Linked DNA regions of Homo sapiens: all the other regions are linked to region 1. The links are contacts of gene promoters, found by promoter capture Hi-C in blood cells and fetal thymus (Javierre and others, 2016). All regions are on one chromosome and are shown on one strand. Each heading gives the region's core, a stretch centred on a gene start or on the middle of the fragment in contact. The rest is flanking DNA. Distances are from core to core; before and after follow the strand shown.

Region 1 (3,401 bases), core at 902-3,401:
GGCTCCCAACTCAATCAAAACAATGCAAACTCCTAACCTGCATAGACAGGCCTATTGAAGTCTCACAGAACATGGACCCTAACTACCTCTCTGACTTCATCTCCTCTTCTTGTCAACCGTGTACCAGCCACACAAGGCTTTCTTTCTGCAAATAAGTCCCCTGCCATAAGCATTTGCACTTCTTGCTCCCTTTATTACGCTTTTCCCCCAGGTGTGTAGTTCAGTCTTTCATTTCACTGAGGTTTCTTTTTTTTTTTTTTTGAGATAGAGTTTGCTCTTGTTGCCCAGGCTGGAGTGCAATGGCGCAATCTCGGCTCACCCGCAACCTCCACCTCCTGGGTTCAAGCAATTCTCCTGCCTCAGCCTCCAGAGTAGCTGGGATTACAGACATGCACCACCACGCCCAGCTGATTTTGTATTTTTAGTAGAGACAGGGTTTCTCTATGTTGGTAGGGCTGGTCTGGAACTCCCGACCTCAGGTGATCCACCCACCTCGGCCTCCGAAAATGCTGGGATTACGGGCATGAGCCACCGCGCCCGGCCTTCACTGAAGTTTCTTATCAAATATCCCCGCACTCTGGCCTGGGCAATGGAGTGAGACCCTGTCTCAAAAAAAAAAATTAAGATTACCATTTTACAATTAAGCAAATAATTCCATGATGAAGCCAGGCCCAGACTACAGGCTGCAGCCCTTATAAAAAAACAGTGGGTAAGTAAAAGTTGATAAACAGCAACAAGGAAATGCACACTTGTGTTAATCAAATATTTAATTTCACACATGCTCTAATGCTTTACTTCCCTTACAATTCTAAGTAGCAGTCTAATGAGATCACATAGGCCTAACAACATTTATTCAACATTCTTCTGACAGAAGCTACAGGCATTTGCTCCAATTTATTCTACCTTTCTTTCTAGGGAAATTGAATAACAAGCAGAATGGAATAAGATTCTAATCCAGAATTCTGGAGACAACGCCAAGGAGACTGCCCTTCAGGTGACTCTAATCTGCAACCAGATTGAAGAACCAGATGACTTTCACAGGATCCATTCAGTTCAAACCAGAAGTCCTACTATTTTGAATAGAAAAGCTGTTAGGCTAATAGCGCAGGAGGTTTATACGGTTTATTCCTTCCTCCCTCAGACCTGTGCATGTCTGCAGAGATGAAGGGAAGGACGAACTGAGTAGGTTGCTGAAAAACGTTTAATTCAAGGGACAAGGAAGGTTACGGAAGAGGAAGAGACATTACGAGAGTTAAGGACAGTGGCTACGTCTACCTCAGCCGGATGGTTCTTAGAAATGGAGACTCTGAGGCCTAACCCCAGGTCTAAAAAAACAGATTCTGCATTTTAACGTCCCCAGACGATTTGTATGCACCGGTCTGCATCCCTAGTTCTCAATGAAACCTAAGAATCATCTGGAGAGTTTGTTAATAACTAGACACCTGGGTCCTACCCCTCAGAGATTCTGATTTACCGGGCTCTCGGTGGAGCTATATGTTTAACAAGCACTGCAAGTTATCCCGGTACAACTGCTCCAAGGTCTACGGTCTGAGAAGTACGGACCGGGAAGGCCTCTGCAAGGAGGTTCTCATTCATCAATTCACCCACTCATCCAGCCAGGACAAGGGCCTTCTTAGGCTATTCTATCTAAAGCGGCCCCCGTTAAACCGCACTCCTGCTTTTCCTCTGTAACACCCACCCCAGCTGCAAGTTCTCCGTACGCTTACCGTCTGTCTCCCCACCCACTAGAACGTGAACTCCAACACAGCAGAGACCTTCTGTGCTTTTCTTACCCAGGTGATCTCGGAGGACAAAATCCAATCTGAAGCCCACCCACCCCTCCCGCGCATGTCAACACCACTCAACAAACCCCTTGTACCTCTAGCTGTAATAAGTAACAAGCAGTATCCTACAGGGCGCCTCGGTGCCCAGGAGCGGATGCAAAGGCGCTGGGCGGGCACAAGGCAGCGCCAAGGACACTCAGGGACGGAGGAACCGACAGGGGACTTGACGCTCCGCCACTCCGACCAGCCGCCCCTTGTCCCCGCCGTCCTCGTCCGCCACTGAGATATCCCCCACGGTCTACCCACCCGTCGGCTCCCACCTGCGACCCAAGGACCCAAGTCTTCCAAGAGCTCAGCCGTTAGAATTCAAAGGTTCTTCTTTTTAAATAGGAGTTAAACCCTCTAGCTAGAAAGCCGATTGGCCTGCGCTCGAGCGAGGCTGCCTTGTGATTGGTTGACAACAAACCCGACGCCTTGAGTCGCGTTTAAGGGCGCACACCGCGCGCAGGCGCACTTGCTCCCTAAGAACCCGGAAGTGGTGGAGCCAACGGCCAGCCAGACCTGTGGCAGTCCCAGCCCCAGGGTGCTCTCCGCGGTCGGCCATTTATCGGTGAAGCAACAGCCCCTTGACGTCAAGCTTGACGCATTGGAGATAAAGTCCAAGGAGGTGAACTAACCTTTGAACGTGCCAGTAAGTAAGATGGCGAGAAAAGCAAGAGAGAGTGGGACCGATCGATAGCGCAGCGGTCGGCTTGGCGCCCTTTCAGCGTGCGCAGTGAACGTGCGCTCGGAGCGGTAGATTGGGCAGGATTCGCGCCTCCATTTTTCCAGGAGAGAGCGGGATACCAAGAGAACCGGACCAGCTGGTACTGGGACACGGGGAGAGTAGCTGGTGCGGTCGGCTGGGGCATTTAGAGAAAACCACAGAAACGACTGGGGCGAGACTGGAAGAGTCGAGAGTTAGCAAGGTGGCATGCGCCTCTACTTTGCGTTTCCTAAGTTGCCCGGCTTGGCCTGCACCCCTTCCTCTTCTCGAAGGGCCTCGCTTCCATTCCCACCCAGTCCTTAGTTCGCCTCTGCATCCAGATGGTCGCGGCGCATATAGTGAGGGGGCATCTGTGTTCTAGCCTTTCCAACTGCGATGTATCCGGTCCTGGATCGGGTTCTTGTCCTCGTGTGCTCACCTGCAAATTGGGGATAATTAGGCTTCTGTTTACCTGGCGAGTGAACGTTCTGTGGGAGTTGAGAAGTTAGGGGTGGGCCACTTAAAATATATATATATATACACACACACACACATATACATATATATACACACACATATGTGTGTGTGTGTGTGTGTATGTACACCCGGGATGTGCTCAGCAGAAGTGAAGAGACCGGATAGAACAGTGGTGTAGGGGAACCAAAAATGGCTTCCCTCCATCCTTCCAGGTACCTTATTAGGACTAAGAGTTAAATTCACATAAGACGAATTAACAGATTACTGCAGGGTAAACAGGATGTGCATGTAAAGCATTGAGCTAGCATACGGAAATTATTCGAGTCATATTAACCCAACGTTAACAGTAGAATCTCTCATCAACTTTTCTTTGCCAGACTACCCACTTGTGATTT
Region 2 (3,401 bases), core at 567-3,066, about 46 Mb before region 1:
TATCAATGTGCAATCACCCCTCAGTATTTGGGGGATTGCATCCAGGACCCATGATGGATACCCAAATCCAGATGCTCAGGTCCCTGATTTAAAAATTGTGTAGTAGGCCAGACGCCGTGGGTCATGCCTGTAATCCCAGCACTTTGGGATGCCGAGGCGGGTGGATCACCTGAGGTCAGGAGTTCAAGACCAGCCTGGCCAACATGGCGAAACACCATCTCTACTAAAAAATACAAAAATTAGCCAGGTGCAGTGGCGGGTGCCTGTAATCCCAAACTTCTCCGGAGGCTAAGGCAGGGAGAATTGCTTGAACCCGGGAGGCGGAGGTTGCACAGTGAGCAGAGATCCAGCTTCAGCCTGCGCGACAGAGCGAGACTCTTTGTCAAAAAAAAAAAAAAAAAAAAAAAAAATCGTGTAGTTTTGTACACAACTTGCCACCTCCTTCCATGTACCTTAAATAATCTCTAGGCTACTTATAATACCTAATACAACGTTAAATGCTATGTAAGTAGTTGTTACACTGCAGTGTTTAGGGAATGACAAGAAAAAAGGTCTGCACGTGTTCAGTACAGATGTAACCATCTTTTTTCCCCCAGAATGTTTTTATTTATTTATTTTCTTAAATAGAGTCTCTGTCGCCCAACCTGGAGTGCAGTGGCGTGATCTCCGCTCACCGCAACCTCCGCCTCCAGGGCTCAAGCGATTCTCCTGCCTCAACCTCCCAAGTAGCTGGGATTACAGGCGTGCGCCACTGCGCCCGGCTCATTTTTTTGTACTTTTAGCAGAGACCGGGTTTCGCCACGTTGGCCTGGCTGGCCCCAAACTCCTGACTCAAGTGATCCGCCCGCCTCGGGCTCCTAAAGTGCGGGGTTACAGGGGTGAGCCACCAAACCCCGCCGCCCCAAAATATTTTCTATCCGCAGTTGGTTGAATTCACACATGCGGAACTCATGGATAGGGAGCGTATTGTTTCTCCCCCATCACTAGAACATGGAGTCAGGACCGTGCAAGTCCCTCTTGGTCACTGCCGTATCTACTAACTCGGCAGTGCTGTAGACACGTGTATATCTGTTTATGGATAAACTGAAGATGTTAATGAATGAATGAAACCGTCATATTGAGTCTCTGAAACGGCAACAGGATTTGGGTATGGTCTTATCGGGGAGGAAGACGAGCATGACCTTAGAGGGTCATCCCTACAAGGTCCACAGCCCTGCAAGCCCCGCGGCTGCTTTCACGTAGCTGGCAGGGCCACGCTGCACAACGTCTCTAACGCCGTCGGAGGGCGGCCCCCACCTCCCGACAGCCTGGGGTACACCGTGCACCCTCCAGACAGTCAGGGGCACACGGGGCCCCTCCCAGCGAGGGAGGGGACGGGGAGTCACAGGTTCGGCGTAGAAGGCGGCAGCGCAGGTGGGAGCGTGGTGAGGCGCCACTCCTCCAGCTCTCCCCACCGGCGGGAAGACCTCCTCGCCGCCCGCATCCGTGCCGACCGCAACATTTACCATCGGCAGCTATTTCAGAGGTCGGTCTTTCGCCTCCTACAGAGAGCCAGCCTCCTCCTTGTCCCCGCCCTCAAATATCCTTCAGTGAGGACACCGGTGACCTTTGGGGGTGGAGAGGGAGGCGCCTACAAGCCCCTTCCCCTCTCTTCGGCCGGACACAAAGCGGGCTTTTCCACCTAGAGTCCCAGCGCTCTCACCTGCGCACCAGCCGTCGCGCCGCCCCAGGCCGCCACCGCCAGAGGCCCCAGAAACAGATCTCAAGCAGCCGCTGCTGCCGCGGATCCCGACAACCTTCGCGTCGCGCGAGGGCACGGAGCACGCGCAGCTCTGCGGTCGACGCCGGGCCGCCCCCACTCCGCTTCTCCGGGTTTTCCGTGAAGCTCCAGCCAACAGCGGCCGTCACCGGAAAAAACGGGGAGCGAAGTTTATTCAGCGTATATTCCAGCAAATTGTTGAAACTGAAATTTTAAAAGAACGCATAAAATTTAAATAACATATCAAAATGGCACAGCTTCTGCCTTTTGGTGAGCGCTTGACAATGATTTATTGAATGAAAGAAAGAAATAGTCCACTGCGCTCTGCTCTCTGTCCTGACATGACCAATTACAAAGCGCTTGGATTTGTCGCTCAGCGCCAGTATCCCGCCTCTCTGTGCGGTTGTCTGGAAAATCAGGATTTTTACTCTCCCGTAACTCCCGGGATCGGGTTTGGAAAACGGACATGCGCCGTGAGAGCTAGTTGCCTTCTACTAAAGCATCCGCCCTCAGTCCTTCCTGAGGGCTTACAGGGAAGTGCGGAGTTTCGCAGCTCGTACTCTTCACAGATTAGATAATTCACCCGGCATTTCCCCATCCTGCTTCTGGGTTCCAGGACAAAACTTTTATTCTCTTTTAACATTAAAAAACATATAGGAAGTTATGTTCAAACATGGCTATTTTTATTAAAATTTATCCGGCACTGTGAAAGCTACCTTTCCTTTCTCACAATCTTTCGCACCGAATATATGTTCCATTCTTGAGCTAGTCATTTTCCAATGTTAAGAAAACACACCACAGAAAAGCGTTTTTTTTTCTCTCGGTCAGTTCAACTGCCTAGCACCGTGAGTTACCATGATACGTTATTTGCTAATGAGAGTCATTGGGGTCCCAGCCTTTAAAAATAGCCTGCGTCCGGCGCCATTTTTGTTTTGGGCCCACTTTGAAAGCCGCGATATTCTGAACAGAGGCCATTTTTCTTTTGGGCAGATTCCACGGGCCATCGAAGTGTTTCGCTGCCATCTTAAATCCTGGCTGTGGCCTCAATCCTGCAGCGAAGCTGCCCAGATCATTTTGTGTTTGGGCGGCGGCTGAGTTCCCAAACGCGCGCGGAGACCCTGGGAAGGAGGAAGTAAGCGCGAAAGTGCTTCCCTTAAGCTTCTGAAGGTTGGCTGCAGTTCCGGCTACCTGTGTAGTCCGAGTTTCCACAGCCAGGTACTACTCCGCCAGTGACCCTGGACAGTAACAAAACATATAAAGCCCGAGCCCAAACCCCGCCACCATCATAGGTAAGCACATGGACCTCTGACAACCTCAGATGTTCCTTCAAGTGAACTGAACTGTTTGCCCATCTCCTCCCTCCTGGTTTTTGGCTTTGATTTTTTGAGACTTTTCCGAATCCTTCTCCCTGTACTTCCACCTTTCTTCATTGTTTTCAAAAAGCCAAAAAGTTGCTAAACATCAGGATGCCATGAGCATGGGCATTACGGTGGAGATATTATTCAGGAAAGTTAACTGTCTTTGCACAAAGGGAATGCAGTAGATGGGCCAGGTATTTGTATCAAATCATGGCTACCTGCATCCAGCAGTACAAATACCTCCCCCTTCCCAGACATTTTTGGAGATGTGAGGTAAATACAGA
Region 3 (3,401 bases), core at 311-2,810, about 38 Mb before region 1:
AAATAATCAAGGCAAATCTTTGGCGAATAATATTAAGTTTTGGTTAAAAAAAATCCCAGCTATGTCTTTTCTCAGTGTTAAGTATTATACATGTGTACATTTTGAGTTTGTTTCCTTACCGAGAATAATTAATCTGAACTTCCTAAATTTATAAAAGTTTACTATTGATAAGCTAATATTAACATTACATTGTTTAAGATCCTGAAAAATGTGAATTTGTTCAACAAAACTGAATCATTCTCACATTTAACAGTAATTGTTTCTTTGTGCCTTAAACTATTAATAATTTCTATGATCTGTAGATAACTTAAAACTTAGTATTAAATTGAGCTAATTAATGGATACTTCTTGGATGCCTAGATATGTTCTTGCATAATTTTATGTTTACATCGTTTTGCTTATTTTTATATGCTACAGAGACTACAACTCTGAGTCACAGTAATGATGTGTTCATGTTTGCCACTTGTCAGCGTGTGTAAAAATGGTTGTGGTGGCTTTATACAGTTGTGTTCTATCGCGCCTTTTGCAGCAACATGGATGCATCTGGAGGCCATGATCCTAAAAGAATTAACGCAGAAGCAGAAAACCAAATACATGTTCTCACTTGAAAGTGGGAGCTAAGCATTGGGCACACATGGACACAAAGGTGACATTAATAGACGCTGGGGACTACTAGAGTGGGGAGGGAGGCAGGGAGGGGCTGAAAAACTTGGGTACTATGCTCAGTATCTGGGTGACCAGCTCATTCGAATTCGAAACCTCATAGCCAGGTAACAAATACGCAGTGTACCCCCTAAATCTAAACGTTGGAATTATTTTTTAAAAGAAAGTTATGTTCCATGTATTTCTAAGCTTACTCTCCTAAAATGGTTGAATATTACAGTTCTCAATTATTTATCTCCATGTAGAAGGATGACAGGGACTGTGCGCTAGTGCCAGCCTCCGCTGAGAGCGCCAAGACATTACAGCAAGCGACGGTAGGAGAGCTTGTAACGTGAAGCACCACCACACCTCTGTACTTCAAACTTAACCACAGAGACCGACTCCCAAACCAGCAAGTGCGTAAGCGCCGCCGCGCTCACCACCCGCCCCGCCCCTTCCGCATGCTAATGCCTTCTTCCGGCAGCCTTAGTTTCTTCCAACCAGTGCAGCTCCCTGTTCCGCGAGCATACGTCATCGTTCTCGCTTTCCGGTAGCTAAGGCGATCAGCGGGACTTCCCACTGAGACGAGCGGATGTCATATTGTATCAGGGCGAACCTCTGAGGAGCGCTGGCTGCGCTTAGGCAACGGTGCGGCAGGCGCCGGGGTTTTCTGAAACAGAAACGTTTAGGGGTGGGGAAACGTGTTCCGAGGAACTCTCGTTTTGAAGTGCGACATACACCTGTCTTGCCCTGTTCCAAGATGGTGGCAGAGCTTCTCTGAGTCTCTCGCTTCCTCCAGTCCGTCGGAGAAGCGCTCTTTGATTGGCCAGTGGACAGCGCCGTGGCATGACGCGCTGGGGCGCTGGCCAATCGGTTGAGAGCTGAGCTGGACTTGGCGGTGGGAGCCGGAGCCTGCTTGTTGCAGCTGTGGGTGAGGACGGCTCTAGCTAGGTGAGCGGCTCCGGCCAGGTGAGCGGGGCGCATAGGTGACGGAGGGCCGAGGGCACGGGTATGAGTTTCTGCCGGGGGCGAGGTGAGCGGCTTCTGGGAGGAGGCCTTTTCTTGACAGTTTAGGGTAGCGGGGGAATGGATGATCCGGGAGTCCCCTGCGGATGTCGTCCCGCACCAGGCCGGGACCGATTTCTGGCTCCAGTTTCCCCAGAATTGCGGAGTGCGCACACCTGGAAGGACCCAAGTCCCGTTTTATAGTTGAGAAACTCAAGACTCAGACAAGTGAAACGACTTTTGCTTCATGACAGCTGGAACTGGAACCCAGGTCCTTGGACTCCCTTCAAGGATTAAACCTCACTTATTCTTACATACACATGGTCACTGTGTCCTGAGAAGTTACGAGTTGGCGCGATAAGGGTGGTTCAGATTTTTTGGCATATTCTCCTGTTATCTTTCCAGGCCTTTCATTCATTCACTAATTCATACTTTCAGTTATTTACCTCTTCAGATACCTTCCCCGATACTTTGGTAAAAGCTATGGACCCATCTCCCTAGAAAAACGGCATATTCCCTCATGCGCATAACTTCAGATGATTAGTGGACCTTCTATAGTCCCCTTGGATTATGTGTCCACTGCTAAGAATCCAGACCCTAGAAGGGTGAGGGAAACAGGCAGTAGGAAAAGGAGGGAGCAGGTCTTAGGCTGTACATGCTTGGAAACCATTAGATGGAGGCAGTAGCTTCTTTTTTTTTTTTTTTTTTTTTGAGATGGAGTCTCGCTCTGTCGCCCAGGCTGGAGTGCAGTGGCGTGATCTCGGCTCACTGCAACCAATGCCTCCCAAGGTCAAGCAGTCCTCCCTGCCGCAGCCTCCCGAGTAGCTGGGATTACAGGCACCTGCCACCACGCCCAGCTAATTTTTGTATTTTTAGTAGAGACGGGGTTTTGCCATGTTGGCCAGGCTGGTCTTGAATTCCTGACCTCAGGTCATCCACCGGCCTCGGTCGCCCAAAGTGCTGGGATTACAGGCGTGAGCCACCGCGCCCGGCCGCCAGTGCCTTTTAATAAAGAACGTTTTGAGAGAGAGACGGTTATTTAATGAAATCTGCTGACATACTTGCTGAGAGTTGTGATAGAACTTGCTTTCATTCCGACTTTAGTTATCCCTTTGCTTCCCATGAAGCTCCAGAGTGCTTCCTGTGCACACAGTGCTTCAGGTTCTTGCCGTTGCCAGAAATAAACAGATTTCTTAGAGTTTCAGTTGGAGCAAACATTGGAATTCTTGTGTTCTGGGCTTTATGTAGTAGAGTAATTCATTTGCTTTTCTAGCCATGCAATATTATTGCCTTAATCAAAATTATTTACAGTATGGTACTTCCCAAAATAACAGACAGTTGTTATCCATATTCAGGAAGTGGGCGCGAGAGGCCACTTTAATTTGATAGACTCTTTAATTTGCCTTTTTACTACTTTTCTTGAGGGGCTTGTTCCCTTGAACCCCAATAGCTGAGTTGTGTGTTACCCTAGATTTTAGGATATGAACAGGATGTATAAATACTCAATGAAGTTGGGATCATCTGGGTTTGAGAGTTTAGCCTGTAGGACAGTTTTACTGACCACAGTCTTCATTTTTTTTTTGAAACAGAGTCTGGCTCTGTCGCCCAGGCTGTGCAATGGCATTGTCTCGCCTCACTGCAATCTCTGCCTCCCGAGTTCAGACGATTCTCCTGCCTCAACCTCCTGAGTAGCTGGGACTATGGGCACGTGCCACCACACCTGGCTAATTTTTGTATTTTTAGTAGAGACGGAG

What was found. The method cuts DNA at HindIII sites, captures the fragments that hold promoters and counts their contacts. A CHiCAGO score of 5 or more calls a contact.
Region 2: the fragment with the promoter of MKKS here is called in contact with the fragment with the promoter of AURKA in region 1 in 3 of 17 cell types (total B cells, total CD8 T cells and non-activated CD4 T cells); the score reaches 15.1 in total B cells.
Region 3: a contact is called between the fragment with the promoter of SEC23B here and the fragment with the promoter of AURKA in region 1, in 5 of 17 cell types (fetal thymus, total CD4 T cells, total CD8 T cells and 2 more). The highest score is 12.1, in fetal thymus.

The regions. Positions count from the first base shown.
Region 1 is chr20:56,390,064-56,393,464 of GRCh38, forward strand. AURKA (aurora kinase A) reads right to left here and starts at 2,152. Exons shown (of 9, transcript NM_198437.3): 1 at 2,105-2,152. CSTF1 (cleavage stimulation factor subunit 1) reads left to right here and starts at 2,582. Exons shown (of 6, transcript NM_001324.3): 1 at 2,582-2,650. RefSeq lists an enhancer at 2,298-2,537. The HindIII fragment of the contact is 5,454 bases long and covers 1-2,419 here.
Region 2 is chr20:10,432,406-10,435,806 of GRCh38, forward strand. MKKS (MKKS centrosomal shuttling protein) reads right to left here and starts at 1,817. Exons shown (of 6, transcript NM_170784.3): 1 at 1,703-1,817. SLX4IP (SLX4 interacting protein) reads left to right here and starts at 2,900. Exons shown (of 8, transcript NM_001009608.3): 1 at 2,900-3,048. LOC128706665 reads right to left here and starts at 1,817. Exons shown (of 3, transcript NM_001394148.2): 1 at 1,703-1,817. It overlaps LOC128706666, which reads right to left and starts at 1,817. Exons shown (of 3, transcript NM_001394149.2): 1 at 1,703-1,817. RefSeq lists enhancers at 1,664-1,723, 2,614-2,843, 3,004-3,053. The HindIII fragment of the contact is 4,604 bases long and covers 1-2,915 here.
Region 3 is chr20:18,506,380-18,509,780 of GRCh38, forward strand. SEC23B (SEC23 homolog B, COPII component) reads left to right here and starts at 1,561. Exons shown (of 20, transcript NM_006363.6): 1 at 1,561-1,593. RefSeq lists enhancers at 1,102-1,431, 1,782-1,831. The HindIII fragment of the contact is 4,172 bases long and covers 851-3,401 here.